Regions from separate parts of the Homo sapiens genome. Here region 2 is linked to region 1. The links are contacts of gene promoters, found by promoter capture Hi-C in blood cells and fetal thymus (Javierre and others, 2016). All regions are on one chromosome and are shown on one strand. The core of a region is centred on a gene start or on the middle of the fragment in contact, and the rest is flanking DNA. Distances in the headings are between cores, read along the strand shown.

Region 1 (4,166 bases), core at 580-3,079:
TCACTGCAAGCTCCGCCTCCCGGGTTCACGCCATTCTCCTGCCTTAGTCTTCCAAGTAGCTAGGACTACAGGCGCCTGCCACCACGCCCGGCTAATTTTTTGTATTTTTAGTAGAGACGGGGTTGCACCGTGTTAGCCAGGATGGCCTCGATCTCCTGACCTCGTGATCCACCCACCTCGGCCTCCCAAAGTGCTGGGATTACAGGCGTGAGCCACCCCACCCGGTCTTTTTTTTTTTCTTTTTTGCCGGCCCGCAATGTTTTCTTAAACTTTTTATTTTTAGCTATCCTGTTGAGGTTCTTCCAGATGAATTTTAGCCTCTGACCCAGGGGTATGATTTGATAGGCGTGGAGTTCTGGTTACTTCTTAAATGAAGAGTTTCCCCAGGATATCTGAACAATTCTCTTGGGTGGAAGACTCAAGGATCATGAAAACGAAAACCAAATTCTAGTCGGCTCCTAAAGTCCTTTTGCCTCCTGCGGTTACCATCAAAGAGCTATGGTCAAAATTCCAAGGGATAATTCAGGGTCTGATTCCACTATATATCCCCAGACCGCCTATACATAAATCCATATTATTGGAGATTTACGCTTAATCCTATAATCTTTTACCTAACAGCTGTCCAGTAGAATTTTCTGGATGTCCAATAAGGTAGCCGCGTGTAGCTCTTGAACACTTGAAATGTGGCTAGTCCCCTAGAGGAACGGGATTAATTTAAATTTACATAGCTACAACTACTTATCGGTCACTGCGGTAATTGTTAAGACTGGTTTTGCCTGTAACTTGCATATGTTTTATTGGACATCAGTTTCAATATTTCATTTGCATTGCTAAAAGTCAAAATCCTTTTGACTTTGCCAGTTACTCAGTGAGAGGACAGTTGGAGCCAGTTTCTGTTCTAGGCTTACAGTTTTAAGGACAGATAAAGGTTAGTTTTTAACCTCGAGATGAACAGACTGTTAAGTTTCTACGGACTTGCCCATGGGGTTCCACAGTGAGCCTGGGCCGGGGAGGCAGGTACTGTGTCAGGGGGAAGAAAAAAGGGGCTTCTAGCTGGGCAGGTGACACACAGGGCATAGGAAGAGGTCAGTTCTTGTGGCCGAGGAGGTCCGGCCCGGGGGTCCCAGGAGCAGAGATCTCCCTTCTCTTCGATGTGGAAAGTGAGGAGGGAGCAGAGCCTTGCTCAGAAACGGAGCTCCCCCAATCCCCCACCGCCCTAGCTACTGGACTGGAACTAGGATGGACACGAATGTCCTTCTCATTGTACTAACTGCACTCAACAAGCGGGAAAGATGAAGCGAGGGGGTTTAAATGTGTGCGTTTGTTGAATGACCCACAAAAACTGAAGGAGCGCGGCCGGACTGATCACACTCCTTGAGACAAAGCGGGTGGGAGACCCAGAGGTGAGGAGGGTGGTCGCCTGTGGGCGAGGACTGGGAGGCCAGGGGTTCTCGGCGAGGCGGTCCCAGGAGGCGGCGCGGAGCCGCTGCGAGGCCGCAGGGCCGGGTCGCAAGATGGCCGGGCCGGCCTCCCGCGCGGGTCGCGCGGGCCACGCGGGCGGGTTTCAGATGTTCCGGGCCCGGGTAGGGGCTGGCAGGAGAGAAGGGGCCGGCTGCGGGGAGGGCTGGCTGAGAAGAAGCGAAAATGGGCGGTTAGCAGCAGGGACCCGGAGCCGGAGGAGCCGAGAGCAGCGCGTGCGCCGAGCTCTACTGCCTCGCGGGAAGGCGGAAGGGTGGGGAGGGCGGCGCTCGGGGCGGGAGGCCCGGCCGGGTCCGCTAGGACAGCGGGGCCGCTGGGAAGTTGTGAGAGCGGCGCTCGGGGGCGCGCTTGCGTGCACGAGGGCCCGGGCCGCGAGCAGCCGCGGCCGTCCCGGTCGCCACCCTTAGCAGCGGTCGCGGTCGGTGCCGAAGCGGTGTTCCCCGCCTTAGCCGCTGGCGCCTCCCAAGAGAGCGGCCGGTGGGCCCTCGTCCTGTCAGTGGCGTCGGAGGCCGGCGCTGCGGTGGCCGCGCCCTTCTGGTGCTCGGACACCGCTGAGGAGCCGGGGCCGGGCACGGCTGGCTGACGGCTCCGGGCAGCTAAGGCTGCCCGAGGAGAAGGCGGCGGCCGCGGCGTAGGCGCACGTCCGGCGGGCTCCTGGAGCCTGGAGGAGGCCGAGGGGACCATGTCCGGGAGGCGCTTCCACCTCTCCACCACCGACCGCGTCATCAAAGGTGCCTGGCGGGCCGGGCCTTCCTCTGGGACCCGCGGGAAACGGCCTTCGGCTGGGCGGCGGCTCGGGGCGGAGGGAGGCTGGGGCCGGGCTGCGCCCACCCTAGGAGGGCTCGGAGGGGTGTAGACAGAGCCGGGCGGCAGCCTCCGAGAGCAGCCACCCGGACCCGGCGTTTTCTGCTGCACCTGGTCAGGTGCCTGGCCGTCAGTGCCAAGTTCCCTCCCGAAGGGTTCAGGGTGCAGTGGGGACTTCTTCTCCCACCGCCCCGAAGGGCCCGGATCCCTGTCTTTTTTTCTCTTTAAGAAACGACTCGGGGGAAGCCATCGGGGGTGGTGTGAGCAGGGAGTCGACTCTTCCAAGTAAGATATTTAAGATTAGATCTTTCTTGACGTCCGCCCCCCACCCTTTTTTAGGACGTATACCATGTGCCTTTTGACCCGCTTTCTCTAGATCATTGCAAGTCACTGCTATTACTGGAATAAACTTAGTATGAACAAGTCAGATAAATCCATTATATGATGTTTAAAATAAGTTTACGGAGCTCTTGACAGGGTAATGGTATTTTATTTTCCCTTTGGTTATAAAGACTTGGAGAATGACGTTTTCTGATTCATATGTGTACCTGCGTTAGATTTCTGTTGTTGTTATAAGAACAAAATGTAAAGGGCTCTTTGCTCTCTAAATCTTGTAGAGTTTTAGGTTATAGTTGTTTCTCCCTTTAAACTAAGAAGATGGATTACACATAACCACTAATTTATGTGCTGCTTTTATTCAGCCGTAAGTCTTAGGCACAACCCTTCTCTCTGAGATTAACAATCGGTTTGAAAGCGCTATTTTGTAAGAAGGGAATAGACTTAGACCAGCTGTGTTAGTGGCCTCTGGATGCAGGGGTTAGCGTGACAGTGGGGAAAATTATTAAGATACTTTTCTTCTTTTTCATTTTGGTATTAGAAGGAGAAAGGCAACTAATACTAGTGACGGGAATACATTTTTAAAAGGTGAAACGCCTTATTGCATGTTCAGGGAGGGGGAAGAATTTTAGTGTATAACTTAGGTTTCCCCCCTCTCTCCCCAAATCAGCCTCATAAATGTTAATTATCTGTACTACATAATTATAATGGGATTTTTGAGATTTATCTGCTTAGCATTTGTATGCTATCGTTAGAGGTTTAACTGAATTGTTCATCTAACTGACATTATCCCCTGAACAGCTAAATTATTGTGACCATTTAAATGTGTCTTCATATTATTAGTGTATAGCCTATAAGAAGTATATAGCCCTCTCTTAAGATTCAGAGTGTACTTAACATAACCTTTTTTGAGGAATCAAGGTCATTATGTACATTAATTTCTGTACTGTGCTGTTAATATGGCCGGTGCGTTCTGCTGTATAAAGTTGTTAGCAGTTTCGTCCTGTACTAAAATGACTTCGCAATGCTATACCAGTTCAGTGTTTTGTTTGCTTTTAGTTTCTCTCTCCAGTACTGTTTTCTGTCAAAATATGCCCTTAACTGCTTTCTAATCTGCTACGTCTTAGCTGAAGTAGGCAGGGAAACCAGATAAGCCAGAACTGTGGGTCAAGTCAGAATAAATAGGATCTTAGTGAAGCTTAGTGCAGCCCTCAGGAATCTCACAATCAAATCACCATTGTGCCATGTAATTTCCACCATAACATGCCATAAGATCAAAAGAAGATTAAAAATCTTAAATGACCCTTAAATATAGTAATAAATATTGTAAAATAAAATGTAATAAAATAAAAAAGTTAAAATGCAGGGGCTAGGGGCAGGCATGGTGGCTCACGCCTGTAACCCCAGCACTTTGGAAGGCCCATATAGGCAGATCACTGAGGTCAGGAGTTCGAAACCAGCCTGGCCAACATGGCGAAACTCCATCTCTACTAAACATACAAAAATTAGCTGGGCATGGTGGCGGGCACTGTAATCCCAGCTACTTG
Region 2 (4,784 bases), core at 1,577-4,076, 160 kb after region 1:
TGTGCTAGGGATACTTCCAATGCTTTAACTCACTTAATCCTCACAACCCGAGATAGGTACTGTTACCATCCTCTCTGCAGACGAGGAAACCGAGGACCAGGAGGTTCAGTAAATGGTCCAAGTACTCCTAGCTAGTAAGGAATGGATCTACAGCCTGCCTCCCAGGTTTCTGGCTTGTGGGGGGCAGAGTTTGTCCCTCTGTCATCAGAGGCAGCCTTCCAGGCACAGCTCTGGTCACCTCTGGTCACAACTGGAGGTCACCACAGCCCTCCCCAGCGCTCTGTAGGCTCTCAGCTTTGTGCTTCCTCCCACGGGTACTAGCTCCAGCTGAGCTTGCAGGAAACCCACTTCCTGAAGCCAGGACTTCCCCATGGGAAGTGCAGGGGCCACTGGGCAGCCTGAGGGCTGACCCTGCTCAGGACACTGTCTGTCTCAGGAACTCATGGCAGTGGTTTACCTTGTCAGGAGTGCATGGACGGGCTGCCCCTCCCATTCCTTCAAGCATCACTCAGAGAGCCCTGGCCTGGCTCTAGGCTTGGGACTGCGGCTGCCACAGGAAGGGGGCATCCCCCTACTTTGGGTGTTGGGTCAGATCCTGCCCCCGTGCCCGCCAGGGCTCAGGTTCCTCTGAGCTGGTCCTGGGCCAGGACGCATCTGCATGGCGGTGGTGGGGAGGAGGGGTGCGCCATGGCCTGGAGGGGAGTGTGTGTTGGGGTGTGTGTGTGGAGGTTCTTTTGAGTCACACACAAAGCATTGTGCTGAGACACTGCATTCCTGCTGGCTGGGCTTCCTGTTTCCAGATGCATTCCTGTCCCAGAGTCACCACAGAGACTGTTTGGAATCCCGCCCCACATTCTCCAAATTCAGGGCGCGATCTGGCAAAGGCTCCCTCCCCCACCCTCTTACTTTGGAGGGAGTCTGGGCTCCCTCCTACCCAGGGAGGGCTGGCAGGGCTCTGGCACGGCCGGGGTGTGATTCCACACATCTTCTTGGTCTTGCATAAGGCAGTTCCTGGAGACCCAGCACTCTGGTTCTCTCTCTGCCTGTGAGAAGCGGAATGGGTACTGTCTAGGAGGACTGGGCAGGGTGGGGGCAACCCAGAGGACCCATGGCTAGCAGGGAAGGGCCTGGGCTTGAATGTGACTCTGTTGAGACATGGCCAGCAATTCTGGCACTTGGCTGTCATTCGGCTGGCCTGCGCAGAGATTGGCTGTGGGCCTCAGTTTCCCCATTTTATAAAGTTTTAAAATCTGATAGTTTGTGGCTCTCTGATAAAGGCTCCTGCAGTGGGTGTTTGGGGACTGGTTCCAGAAAGGAGCAAAGGGAAGGGGATGCACAGACTGTCTTACCCCTCCCGGTAAACAGCCACTTCCTTCCAGTGGCTCTGGCTCCAGCCTCTCCCCTCCCCTAGAGGTCCAGGTGCTAGTCTGCACGTCCTCCAGCTCCCTTATCTGCCTCCGGGGGATTTGGGTCCTGCTGGGATTTTTCCAGCCCTGCCCCCTCCCTCTGGAGGAGGTGCCTTCTTTAGAGGACACCAGCCCCAGTCTGGTCACCAGGCTCTCTCTCATCTTCAGTAGCTTCTTGGGCTCCTTTTAGGTTGGGGACTGAGGGGTGGAATCCCACGGGCCAAAGGCAGGGTGAGGTGGGAACAGGGGGACATTTACACTTTGGCCCAGTCTCCAGGCGGCTCCCCGCTGGCTCGCATCTTTCCAGACCTTGAGACCTACCCAGTCCCCAGCTTTAGGGAGCCCGGGATGAGAAAGAGGCAGGGGACCGGGAGGGGGTTCAGATCTAGCTGAGGACACACGCGCGTTCTGCAGTTGTAAAAGATTTCCCGGTGGGCAGGATCGTTTCCCCTCCCATCGCCCAGGTTTCCGAGCGGCCAAGAGACTGGCCCCCAAGCCACACTGCTAGGGAGCGCCGGGTGCCCGCGTCCTGGTCAGCGCTCTTCCCACCGCCAGCACGTGGGGCTCCCATTTCCTTCCTGGCTCTTGTCCGGTCCTCCAGCCAGCCCCGGCTCTAAGTCCGCGGCAGGAAGACGGACGCTGCGTGTGAACCCGCGGGGCCGGGCGGACCGGCGCCCCGAGCCAGACGGCGTCCCCAGGCGGGGGCCGGGTCCTCGCAGAACAGCTGATCGGGACCCTTATTTTGGCCACAGCCACAGTTGGGGGCGCCACCCAGTCCGTGCCTTCGACCTCGTTCTTGGCGACCCGGCCACCTGCGCCCCCCACCTGGCACCCTTGCCTTCCCTCCTCTCGCCCCTCCCCTCCCTCCTCTCGCCCCTCCCCTCTCCTCTCCCCTCCCCTCCCTCTCCTCTCCCCTCCCCTCCCTCTCCTCTCCCCTTTCCCTCTCCCCTCTCCTCTCCTCCCCTCTCCCCTCTCCTTTCCTCCCCTCTCCCCTCTCCCCTCCCTCTCCTCTGCCCACCCTCTCCTCGCCCCTCCCCTCTCCCCTCCCTCTCCCCTCCCCACCCTCTCCTCTCCCCTCCCCTCGCCCTCCTCTTCCTCGCCCCTCCCCTCCCTCTCCTCGCCCCTCCCCTCCCTCTCCTTTCCCCTCCCTCGCCTCGTTCCTCTCATCCCTCGTCTTGCCCCGCCCCTTTCTCCTCGCCCCCTTCTCCTCGCCCCTCCCCCTTCCCCTCGCCCCTCCCCTCCTCTCGCCGCTCCCCTACCTTGCCTCGCCCCTCCCCTCCCTCGTCTCGCCCCTCCCCTCTCTCCTCGCCCCTCCCTTCCTCGTCTCGCTCTTCCTCTCTCCTCCCCCTAGGCCACGCCCCCCACCGCCCCGCCCCCCGCCCCCCCAGCCCCGCTCCCCGCCCCCCCAGCCCCGCTGGGAGTGTCTGGGGGCCGCGCCCAGCTGGGTCGGGACGCGCTCCCTGAGCTGCCCGAGCTCCGCGGGGACTCGGGCCGGGATCCTCGGGCGGCTGCATTGGCCGGGGCCGGGGCCGGGAGCGGGCCATGATGGGCCGGCGGCGCGCCTTCGCCGTGGACGGCCGGGGTGAGTCACCCACCCCCAGGCTGGCCGGGCTCCCCCCTGCCCCGGAGCCGCTTCCCGCCCCCAAGCCGGGCACCCTCTCTCAGTTTCTTGCCCAGCCCCGCGCACCCCGCGGGCGGAGCCCGCGCCGCTGCGCCTCCCTCGCCGCCTCCCTGGAGGGGCGGTCATCAGGGGACGCCATGCAGGCTGGAACCCCTTTGGGCCCAGGCGTTAAACCAGCCACCGCCTCCGCCCCACTTCCTCCGGCTCCGCTTCCCTCGCCTTCCCGCTCCTTCTGAGGATGTGGGAATCCGCCCGCGCCCCAGCCCCCTCCGTGGCTGCGGACCCCTCTCCCACCCAGTGACCTCCTGGCCCACTTCCTTGCCCAGAGGGGCCTGGGTTGGCATTCGGCTCCCGCGTGCCCCGCAGCTCGTCCCCGCCCCCCTAGCCTGTTTCCCGTACCGTTCATTCCGCCAGGACGCCCCGTCGCCAGAGGGCCTGGCGGAGGTGACAGTGAGGGGGTGCTAATGCTGCCCCTTCGTCCCTTTCTTTCACTTCAGTTCTTTCATTTTAAACTTTTCATAAAATCTTCACTATTGCTCACTTACAACAAAAGCCCAAATCGGTTATAGCGGTGATTTTTATCACTCTCCCGGTGAGCTGCAGGAGAGACTTCACCTGGCATCCTGATGCCGCAGGGGCCCCCAGAGAGCAGGTTGGATCCCAGGCTTTCCTCTCTGTACCCTCTCCCCTCTCCCTGAAGCTGGATACAGTCCTACTCCCGCTTGGGGAGCAGCGGAAGAGCCTGTGGCTCCCTACTTCTGACTCGGGAGATCGTGGGCTGATCCTAGGTGGGAAGCGCAGGCGCAGGCCGTCTAAGGGATTGATGGATGTGGCCTGCCAGGGCTTTGCCTACCACACAGCTCAGAGCACGGGTTCCCTGTCGCTAACAACCGTTGCGAAGGGAATCCCATCCACACATCTCCCAGACAGCTGGGGCCATATCCGGGCTGCCCGTGGCTGTCCAGTGACCGCCCTTCCTCACTGCTCCGGGACACTTCTCCCTGGGGCAGTGCTGCCAGCCTTCAGGAATGCTGGGGGTGTTGGGGGTGGCCTGCCCAGCCTGACGCTGACTCTCCATGCAGATGGGGCTGGCGAGGGCCTGGCACGGGGCTGCATAGTGCCTGGAGTCACCAGCACCTACAGACGGATCCCCGACGCTGCCCACGGGTGCTCATCCTGGGAGAGAGGTGACAAGTTCAGAGGTGTCGGCAGGGAGGCACTCTTTCTCAAACTGGCCTCCCGGGACTCAGGAGTGGAGATGGCAGTTGGGGACAGCCCCCTGGCCGCCTTACCGGGCCTTTCTCAGGACTCCCTGGACTTTGAATCCTCAGGGAGTTCTGAGCCCCCCGCCCAGGTAGGCCGACTCCTGGCCAGCCAGAAGCTGGGGGAGGTGTTGGAGCGGTCCCGCCGGCTCCCAACAGCTCCCACCAGCTTGTCAGGACAACACCGCTCCCTGCGGCTGGCAAGCAAGCCTGAGCGTGAAGTGCCCCTTGGAGCAGGGCAACAGGAGTCCATGGAGGCAGACACAGACCTAGAGGCAGGCCTGGAAGAAGAGGCGGTGAGTGCTCACTCTCAGGCTGGGTTTAAGAGTGGGATGGACAGCCTAGCTCCTCTGGTTCTCCCTGGAGCTCTCTCTGGGTGGGGCACTCCCTGCCCCTAATTGATGGGTTGTGTCATAGGTTCTTTCTGCACCCCAGTTCCATTTGTGCACGGCCACCTCTGCAGAGGAGGTGGGCAGCTACGGGGGCCCTTCCTGG

The links. The method cuts DNA at HindIII sites, captures the fragments that hold promoters and counts their contacts. A CHiCAGO score of 5 or more calls a contact.
Region 2: the fragment with the promoter of C8orf58 here is called in contact with the fragment with the promoter of PPP3CC in region 1 in 16 of 17 cell types (naive CD4 T cells, total CD8 T cells, non-activated CD4 T cells and 13 more); the score reaches 25.7 in naive CD4 T cells.

The regions. Positions count from the first base shown.
Region 1 is chr8:22,439,249-22,443,414 of GRCh38, forward strand. PPP3CC (protein phosphatase 3 catalytic subunit gamma) reads left to right here and starts at 1,830. Exons shown (of 14, transcript NM_005605.5): 1 at 1,830-2,210. The coding sequence starts at 2,162. RefSeq lists silencers at 1,413-1,602, 1,693-2,352. The HindIII fragment of the contact is 13,070 bases long and covers 1-3,815 here.
Region 2 is chr8:22,596,773-22,601,556 of GRCh38, forward strand. C8orf58 (chromosome 8 open reading frame 58) reads left to right here and starts at 2,827. Exons shown (of 7, transcript NM_001013842.3): 1 at 2,827-2,988; 2 at 4,110-4,585. The coding sequence starts at 2,949. It also overlaps a transcript of PDLIM2 not described here. RefSeq lists enhancers at 330-1,077, 1,078-1,825, 4,514-4,784 and silencers at 2,212-2,271, 2,637-2,736, 2,767-3,226. The HindIII fragment of the contact is 7,578 bases long and covers 1-4,784 here.